2 separate regions of the Homo sapiens genome follow, and region 2 is linked to region 1. Evidence: promoter capture Hi-C in human tissues and cell types (Jung and others, 2019). All regions are on one chromosome and are shown on one strand. Each heading gives the region's core, a stretch centred on a gene start or on the middle of the fragment in contact. The rest is flanking DNA. Distances are from core to core; before and after follow the strand shown. Region 1 holds the start of RCE1 (Ras converting CAAX endopeptidase 1). Region 2 holds the start of C11orf24 (chromosome 11 open reading frame 24).

Evidence for each region. The method cuts DNA at HindIII sites, captures the fragments that hold promoters and counts their contacts. A contact is called where the count stands out against the background at its distance.
Region 2: the fragment with the promoter of C11orf24 here is called in contact with the fragment with the promoter of RCE1 in region 1 in 1 of the 25 tissues and cell types used here (spleen).

What each region holds. Positions count from the first base shown.
Region 1 is chr11:66,840,805-66,845,394 of GRCh38, forward strand. It overlaps RCE1 (Ras converting CAAX endopeptidase 1), which reads left to right and starts at 2,637. Exons shown (of 8, transcript NM_005133.3): 1 at 2,637-2,836; 2 at 2,955-3,057; 3 at 3,152-3,235; 4 at 3,482-3,560; 5 at 4,065-4,232; 6 at 4,362-4,433. The coding sequence starts at 2,652. TOP6BL (TOP6B like initiator of meiotic double strand breaks) reads left to right here. Exons shown (of 15, transcript NM_001302084.2): 14 at 2,045-2,265; 15 at 2,365-2,712. The coding sequence ends at 2,430. RefSeq lists silencers at 834-960, 2,178-2,317, 2,428-2,867 and an enhancer at 2,508-3,214. The HindIII fragment of the contact is 26,172 bases long and covers 1-4,590 here.
Region 2 is chr11:68,269,271-68,273,860 of GRCh38, forward strand. It overlaps C11orf24 (chromosome 11 open reading frame 24), which reads right to left and starts at 2,703. Exons shown (of 4, transcript NM_022338.4): 1 at 2,587-2,703. It overlaps LOC105369363 (a long non-coding RNA gene), which reads left to right and starts at 2,832. Exons shown (of 3, transcript XR_950248.3): 1 at 2,832-2,906. RefSeq lists a silencer at 2,501-2,900 and an enhancer at 2,812-3,666. The HindIII fragment of the contact is 13,528 bases long and covers 254-4,590 here.

The DNA of each region.
Region 1 (4,590 bases), core at 1,387-3,886:
CTTTTCTCTTCATCTACTTTCCTCTGGTCATGCCTAAATAGTGCTCATCCTGCTCTCCCACCCAGCTATCTTCCATCCCAACTGTTGACCACTGCCTCTGGGCTCAAGACTCTCAAATTGGTATGACCAGCCAAGGCCTCTGCTGAGTGCCAGCTGGGAGATTCATTTGCTCACTAGGCAGCTCCTCGTGGAGGTCCCATTGGTACCTCAGTTTCCTCTCTCCTGACTAAAGAGACTTTTAGTCTGTTTCATGATTAATCCAATTTATCACATCTGAAATCTTGGATTCATTCAAGAGGCCTCTCATTTTTTTTTTTTTTTTTTTTTTTTGAGACAGAGTCTCCCTCTGTTGCCCAGACTGGAGTGCAGTGGCGTGATCTCGGCTCACTGCAACCTCCCTGCCTCCCAAGTTCAAGTGATTCTCTTGCCTCAGCCTCTGAGTAGTTGGGATTACAGGCGCCCACCACCATGCCCAGCTAATTTTTGTATTTTTAGTAGAGACGGGGTTTCACCATGTTGGCCAAGCTGGTCTCAATCTCCTGACCTCGTGATCTGCCCGCCTCGGCCCCCCAAAGTGCTGGGATTACAGGCATGAGCCACCGCGCCCGGCCAAGAGGCCTCTCCCACATCCAGGCGCTCACAAAGGCCTATCACTTAGGCCTGATGAACACTTCTGATTCCTGGTGACGCCTCTATCTCCACTGTCTTTACTTGTTATTGGGCTCTTAAGGTCTTCCTGTCTCTAGTTTGATCTAAGCCACACCTTTGAAAGAACGATCTTTCTGAAGTACAAAATTACCAATATATTTCACCAGTGCTTAAAACTCTTTATTGGCTTCCTGTCTTCTACAGATGAAAATCTGTTTCTAGCCAGGCAAGGTGGTGTGTGCCTTTAGTCCCAGTTACTCGAGAGGATGAGGCCGGGAGTTCAAAGCTGCAGTGAGCTACAATCACGCCACTGCACTCCAGCCTAGGTGACAGGCGAGACCTCATCTTTAAAAAGTAAAAATTTACATAGGAAGTTGTTTTATGCCTTTGCATAAGGTTTGTGTTAACTTTCAGCAAGAAATTCCCTTTCTCTCCCTTGTCTGGCATATCACTCTTCATCCTTCAAAACCCAGCTCTGGGGCAGGAGTGGTGACTTATGCCTGTAATACCGTCACTTTGGGGAGCTGGGGCGGGAGGACAGCTTGAGACTAGCCTGGGCAACACGGTGAGACCCCTGTCTCTACAAGTAAAAAAAATTAGCCGGTGTGGTGGCATGCGCCTGTGGTTCCTGGTACTCTGGAAGCTGAAGCTGAGGCAGTAGGATCGCTTGAGCCCAGGAGGTCGAGGCTGCAGTGAGCCAGGACTGAGCCACTGCACTCCAGCCTGGGCAACAGAGCAAGACCTTGTCTCAAAAAAACAAAAGGTCAGCTCAGGTATCTCCTCATGGAAACCCTTCTTCACATCCAGAGGTGGTCGGCTTCCTTCTCTATTCTAACCCTGGGCTTTGTACACAGGTCTGCATCCCCTCCTAGCATCTGTGAGCTTCTCTCAGGGAAAAGCTCATTGATCTGCATCCCCAAGACCTGCTGGGGAAGAATCTATCCATCTAAACTCGCTTTAATTTGACAAATGAATCAGTTAAGAGTAGGAAAGCTGCCTATGGGCACTGCTCAATGCAACGTGAGCAACAAAGGGAGACAGAACTGAGGCCAGAAAGGTGAGGGGGGACAGAGGCTGGCAGGGAGGGGAGCTTGTCAGTGCAGACTCCAGGAAGAATCTATACAGAAAGTTACTGAGCGGCCTGAGTCCCCCAAGTGAGGGCTCGGGACAATCTCCCGCCTGGGTGAGAGAATAGGGAGACCCTGAAACGTCTCTGCAGCCTCGGGCTGCTCCAGAAGCGCCCACAGCTGCAGGGTTTTGGTGTGGATGGGACCTGCTGACAGGGATGCGGTGGGAAGAGCCCCTCGGCGCCCGTTCTCCCAGGCTTCCCCTTGGCCAAGGGTGCTCCTAGCACAGGGCCATGAAAGTAAGATGAAGAGGCTTGTTTTTCTCCTAGATACCAGCGGGCAAGCAGAAAACAAGAGGCTCAAGAGGGGCAGCCCCCGCATAGAGGAGATGCGAGCTCTGCGCTCTGCCAGGGCCCCGAGCCCGTCAGAGGCCGCCCCGCGCCGCCCGGAAGCCACCGCGGCCCCCCTCACTCCTAGAGGAAGGGAGCACCGCGAGGCTCACGGCAGGGCCCTGGCGCCGGGCAGGGCGAGCCTCGGAAGCCGCCTGGAGGTAACTGGGCGAGGGCCGCGCAGGGAAGGGCTCAGCAGGAGGTGCAGGCCACGGGCCGCTGCTGAGAGGTCCTCACCCCGGGCCCCCTTGTTCCCGCAGGACGTGCTGTGGCTGCAGGAGGTCTCCAACCTGTCAGAGTGGCTGAGTCCCAGCCCTGGGCCCTGAGCCGGGTCCCCTTCCGCAAGCGCCCACCGATCCGGAGGCTGCGGGCAGCCGTTATCCCGTGGTTTAATAAAGCTGCCGCGCGCTCACCAAGTCCTCTTCCGCGTCTGCTTCCGCGTCGGGCCCGGGCGGGGCGGGGCGGGGCGTGGAGCCGCGCCGCGGCCTGACGTCACCCACACCTCCCTGGGACTGCGTCACTGGTGCGCGCCGCGGGTCAGGGCGCAATGGCGGCGCTGGGCGGGGATGGGCTGCGACTGCTGTCGGTGTCGCGGCCGGAGCGGCCGCCCGAGTCGGCGGCGCTGGGCGGCCTGGGCCCCGGGCTGTGCTGCTGGGTGTCAGTGTTCTCCTGCCTCAGCCTCGCCTGCTCCTACGTGGGCAGCCTCTACGTCTGGAAGAGCGAACTGCCCAGGTGCGGGGGCTGCGCGCGACCGGAATCCGCGCCCTGCGGGCGGAGCTTGGGCGAGCCGGGGGCGGGTCCGTGCTCATGGGCAGCCGCGGGCCCCCTGAACTTACTGTCCCCTCCGTAGGGACCATCCCGCGGTCATCAAGCGACGCTTCACCAGCGTCCTGGTGGTGTCCAGTCTCTCACCCCTGTGCGTGCTGCTCTGGAGGGAACTCACAGGCATCCAGGTGCGAAGGAGGCGGGGCAAAGGGCAACGGCGGTGAGAGCTCAGGGGTCTTTAGGGGAGGAAGCAAAACTGATGCCCCCTTTCCTGTGGCTCAGCCAGGCACATCCCTGCTCACCCTGATGGGCTTCAGGCTGGAGGGCATTTTCCCAGCGGCGCTGCTGCCCCTGTTGCTGACCATGGTGAGTGCTCCTGCTGTATTTTTTCTTCTGGTCTTTGTTATCAGCCTGATGGGCAGTGCCGTGGACTCTTGTTTTTGGTTTTTGGTTGATGGGAGACAGGACTTTTGAGATGGCCCCAGGGTCCTCCGGTATGCATGGTCTGGAAATCGTGGCTGGAGAGGATTTCAAGCTTGGAGTCTCAGGGAGCATGGGCAAAGGTCTGGGCAAAAGCGGTGGGTTATGGTGAAAGTGTTTTCTTGCCCTCAGATTCTTTTCCTGGGCCCACTGATGCAGCTCTCTATGGATTGCCCTTGTGACCTGGCAGATGGGCTGAAGGTTGTCCTGGGTGAGTCTTAAAGGCTGAAGGGAAAAGTAGGCACAGGCAGTCCAGGACATTGGGGCAGGGAGTCAGCGGGCTCAGGGTGTGATCTGGACACGTGAAATGTCATCTCTCTGGGTGTGTTTTCTCATCAGTAAAATGGAAACATAGAGCTAGGTGGCCTCTAAGGGTTGATTGCCAACGTCCAAGGAGTTCCCTGGGAACCCCCAGCAGTATTTGGTGTGGATCAGAGAGCACTGTCCCCTGCTTCCCCAACCAGAGCTAGTCTTGCTTAAATTTTGGTGTCTCCAGAGTTTACTTCCAGGATGCCCTTGCCTCAGCTAATGCCTTCCATTCAGGTCATCTCAAGACATTGGGTTTATGTTGGGTCCACACCCCCGTCCTCAGCAGTATTGATGCCTAACCTGAGTTTGGCCAGGGTAAAGTTGTGGGAGAGGAGCCCTTGGAGCCTCTGGGGTCTCACTGTCTGACAGCCCGTCACTCACAGCTTGTCCTGAATTCCCTCTGCAGCCCCCCGCTCCTGGGCCCGCTGCCTCACAGACATGCGTTGGCTGCGGAACCAAGTGATCGCCCCGCTGACAGAGGAGCTGGTGTTCCGGGCCTGTATGCTGCCCATGTTAGCACCGTGCATGGGCCTGGGCCCTGCTGTGTTCACCTGCCCGCTCTTTTTTGGAGTTGGTGAGTCTGGCCAGATTAGTCCTGGTGTGTTTTCAGCATGAGAGCTCAGAAGGGGGCTTGAGGTGAGGGGCAGTCCTAGAAGGGAGGCTGGGAGGAATGACTGTGATGTGATTGTCACCTTTTTCCCAGCCCATTTTCACCATATTATTGAGCAGCTGCGTTTCCGCCAGAGCAGCGTGGGGAACATCTTCTTGTCTGCTGGTGAGTCCTGGCTAGCTGGCCTGGGTTAGGGTGTATGATGATGTCGCTAATGGCCACTCTGGAGAAGGAATTGGGAACTGAGGGCCACAGTATTGGAGAGGCCACTGACCGTGGGAAGTTGGGGTGCAGGACAGCTGTAGGTGGTGGGGCAGGCAGC
Region 2 (4,590 bases), core at 1,453-3,952, 1.4 Mb after region 1:
TTAGAGAGACTACACGATCTATATATCAGGAGAGACATTTTCCTAGGAGCCAACCAAAACTTCGGAGGAATCCAGGAGCAAAGCCATAATGCAAAGATGTCAACCGGCACAAATGCTTCTCTCATTGATGAATATTTAACGCGTACTCAGGAGATTACAGAAACAGCTCGTCACCTCTTATCATGGGAAGGTTATCAGTAGGTGGTGATATCAAGGACCACCATGGGCCTGCTCCCAACACAGATGCCCACGTGTGCACACACAGCCACACATACATGCACTTAGTCACACACGCTTGTGTGCGCACAGCTGCACATATGTCCATCTGCACATGCACACATGCCACCACACATGTGCACTCACACAGGCACACACATACACATGCAAAATCACACACACAAAGGTGAGGGCACACACACGGAGCAGGTCCACAAGGCTATATCAGGACACTCCACGGGTTTCTCAGGAAACTTCTGCTGGATACCATCACCACTTACTCCCTCCCAGCCGGTGGGGCTGGTGGTCACTCCCACAGAAACAGGAATTGGCCACTGTGTAGTCGAGAACAGGCCTTCATTGTCCTATGACTTCATCCCTCTGCTATGGTCCTGCCTCCACTTTCCAACAGAATATTCTAAATGTCAAGATCCCATGCGGGAACCTGTGGTCATCTATGTAAGTTGACTCATGATGGACAAACCATTAACAACATTTAAAATAACAGTTTCCCCTGCAAAGGCTTCAAGCCAAAATTAGGATGTGGGTCTCGGGACCCCACCAGTTATTCTCATTATTATGTGGTACAGGGAGACTGGGTAGATCAGGGTCTCAGACCATAATAGATGGGAAAAAAGAGACCCCAGGGGCAGGAGGGGAATGAGCGAGAGAGAATTAAGTTTGTATTAAGTTGGAGACCAGGGCAGATGGAAAGACGGAAGGTTAGGCTGGCACTGGGAGCTCCCTTCTTCAGGGGTCAGCTCCCCATAGGATCTGCAAGGAAGGTGCAACAGGATACTCCCTTGAGCCATGTGACACTCCATGACAAAGGCACCCCCAACTATGCCCCTGGGTGTCAACCTCCCTATCCTTTTCTGGTTCATGACCTCGAGATGCCTCCCAAGGCATCTTGTCTGAATTCTTGTGTTCCGAACCTTGGCTTGTTATATGTGGCGCACTTTATGCAAGTTACACAAAACTGGACTCCAGGCGTGGTGCTGCATGCCTGTAATCCCAGACACTCAGGAGGCTGAGGTGGGAGGATTACAAGCCCAGAAGTTTGAGTTCAGCCTGGGCAACATAGTGAGACCCCATCTCTTAAAAAAAAAAAAAAAGGGAAAGAAATAACTTAATTCTTTTTTTCTGGCATAGAGAGGTTCCAAAGACCAATCCTGAAGCTTGGTAAAGGACTACAGCTGTTACCCCCACATTCTATCAGGCTATTAAGACTCACTCAGCCGCAACATGGCCAGGCCCCCACACCAAGTTAGGCAAGCTACAGATACCAAGGAGTAGGAACTGCAAACACAAATACAGGGCAAACTGCAGGTACCTAATCCTGACACGTCACCTGGCTGAACTTTGGTAGCAGAAGCCCAAGGAACACAGACTTATGGCTTTGTGTATATAGACATTGTCCTGTAGTCCAAAGGATGTGACTCTGTGGCAGACGGGAACCTAGAACATTGGACATTTATTATATTACATTAACTACCTTGCTTGCTTCCAGGTTTCTGGAAGTTTTGGTAACACAGCTAAATACTAGGGCCTAGTTTTTGCTAAGAACGTGGGTAGCTCTGACATTCCTTTGTCCATTAGGCAGATCCACTGTATAAATGGAAACATCTGTATTTTAAAGATTTTCCTAGCTGATTTTATCGAAATGTTAGAGATTTTCCTGGGGCGAGGGATAGCTGCAAGTTATTACAGTCAGATTTCTAAGCACGATGATTATTTCTGGTGGCAAACCATGCGTGTGGAGGCCGATTCCTCCTATCAGCCTAACGATTAAGTCAACATGCTAAGCAGCCACACGGGGGCTACTAAGTGACTCGCACGGGGGAAGCAGGCAGGGAGACAGATGGGCAGGGGAGGGAATCTGGGGCAATGCACAACCTCCACCCAGGTAGAGAGAGGGTCTGGGGGATAGGTCTGTGTCACTCAAGTAAGAGCGACACTTCTTGGGGTCCAGTCCCGTCCTGGGCTTGCCCGGGAAAGACCCCAGGACAAATTCGGCCCCCTTCCAGAGTGTCCCCATTCTGCTCCCACAATGGGACAAGCCGGCCTCTTCTCCAGTCTGGGCCCCCTTCGGCCCTCCTCCCTCCTCCTGTCTCTTGGGCCCCCAGCCATGCTCGGCCCCCAGTTGACTTCTTCAGTACCTGCATTGCTCAGCGTCTTGCACTCTGTGCGTGCCCCATCCGCCGCTCCTCCTGTCCCGTTCCTCCTGCCTCTCTCAGCCCCACTCACTCTCCCACTGCCCCTCGTGCCCCCATCCAACCCTCCTCCTGCCCCCCAACCTCTGTCTCTCAGTCCCAAGCCAGTCAGGGAGCCCTGACAGCAGCTACCCGGACGGCAGTGCGAGCCCCTTACCCGGGCGCAGCAGGCCCCCGGCGGCCTGGTGGCCCTCGGACAGTAGGAAGGAGCCTGAGGCCCGGCGCGGGGACGTGGCCGGCAGCGCAACCCAGGCAGCTCCGGGCAGCGCGCCCTGCCCGGGCCCCGCCCAAACGCCGGAAATGACGTCACGGAGGGCGGGGCGGGCCTGCTGGCCGGGGCGAAGAGCGGCTGCGGCGGGGCCTGTGGCGAACGGAGGCGAGCCGGAAGTGGGGGGGTTGTCTGCTCTCAGGCCCCGCCTCCCCGGGGCCGGCTCGGGCCACTTCTTGCGCGCTGCCAGAAGGAGCTATTTTGAGCAGGTCTGTGGCGGAAGTGGGTGTTCCCGGGTCTCTGCTGCCCAGCTGTGCCCGCTGCCGTCTTGGGGTCCCGGGGTGCGCGGGTTGGGCTGGGTGAGCTCAGAGGCACCTTGTCGGCAGCCGAGCCTGAAGAGGCGACCTCGAAACGCCTCGTGAGACCTTTCGCGGGCACACGCCCTTCGCGTTCCTCCGCTTCCTCCCACGTTTCTTCAGCCCCTGGCGGGGCGCTGGGGTGCCCGGTAGTTAAGGGTGGGGTGGCAGCGAGCGTTTCTGTGCACCCGCAGCGTGCCACGCCCGTGCTAAGCACTTTGCCTATAGAGCCAGTGGCTTAATTCTGCAATAGCACAGTGAAGAACTTCGCCTCATTTTACAGACGTGGAAACAGGCTCATCAAGTGCTCTGTAATTGTAAAACCTGGGATAACAAAGGAGCAAAACGCAATTTAGAGGCAAGTGTGTGGGACTTGACTTTGGTTAGAAATAGGCTTTGCAGGCCAGGCGCGGTGGCTCTTGCCTGTAATCCTAGCACTTTGGGAGGCCGAGACGGGCGGATTATCTGAGCTCAGGAGTTCGAGACCAGCCTGGGCAACATGGTGAAACCCTGTGTCTACTAAAATACAAAAAATTAGCCGGGCGTGGTGGCGTGCGCCTGTAGTCCCAGCTACTCGGGAGGCTGAGGCAGGAGAATTGCTTGAACCTGGGAGGTGGAGGTTGAAGTGAGCAGAGATCGTGCCACTGCACTCCAGCCTGGGCGACAGAGCGAGACTCTGTCTCCAAAAAAAAAAAAGAAAGAAAGAAATAGGCTTTGCAAGTTAGTAGTTCTGTGACTGAATCCCAGTCTGTATAAGACCCTCAGGCATCCCCCGGTCCAAACCAAAACCTGTCTGCGAAGGATGATTTCACAGGAGCAAACCAAGACTTTATTTCCAGTTTTATAACCTGCCTTGGGGTCTTCGGCTAGGAAGCTAAGAGACACAGAAAGCTGAGATTGGGCAAAGACAGGATCTACCATCCACTCCGAGCTCTGGGAGCACCTGAAATGCGATTTGATGTCACCACCACCATCCCCAGTTCAACCACAGTTCATGTGTGGAATTTAACCTGCAAAGTTGGGTTTGCTGAGACCCAACGCCGGTTGGATCATGTGAAGATCAGATCCTTTCACTATGTATTTGCTTTAATTTTTCCAACTAGTTCGGATCTAACATGAAGTACAGTATTGAGGCTCACTCCAGAAGTGAAAATATACAATCGGCAGGCAGATTTTAGTTCTTTGCCTGCCCTTTTCAAAAATCAATGACTGGGCTGGGCGCGGTGGCTCACGCCTGTAATCCCAACATTTTGGGAGGCCAAGGCGGGCGGATCACCTGAGGTCAGGAGTTTGAGACCAGCCTGACCGATATGGTGAAACCCGTCTCTACTAAAAATATAAAAATTAGCCAGGCGTGGTGGCGTGTGCCTGTATTCCCAGCTACTCGGGAGTCTGAGACAGGAAAATTGCTTGAACTTGGGAGGGGGAGGCTTCAGTGAGCCGAGATCTCACCACTGCACTCCAGCCTGGGCGACAGAGCGAGACTCCTTCTAAAAAAAAAAAAAAAAAAAAAAAAAAAAATCAATGACTGTGACTCTGTTTTCATTTCCTCTTTGGCAACATAGGGACAATTTTTACTGCTGGGGCTGAAATTACA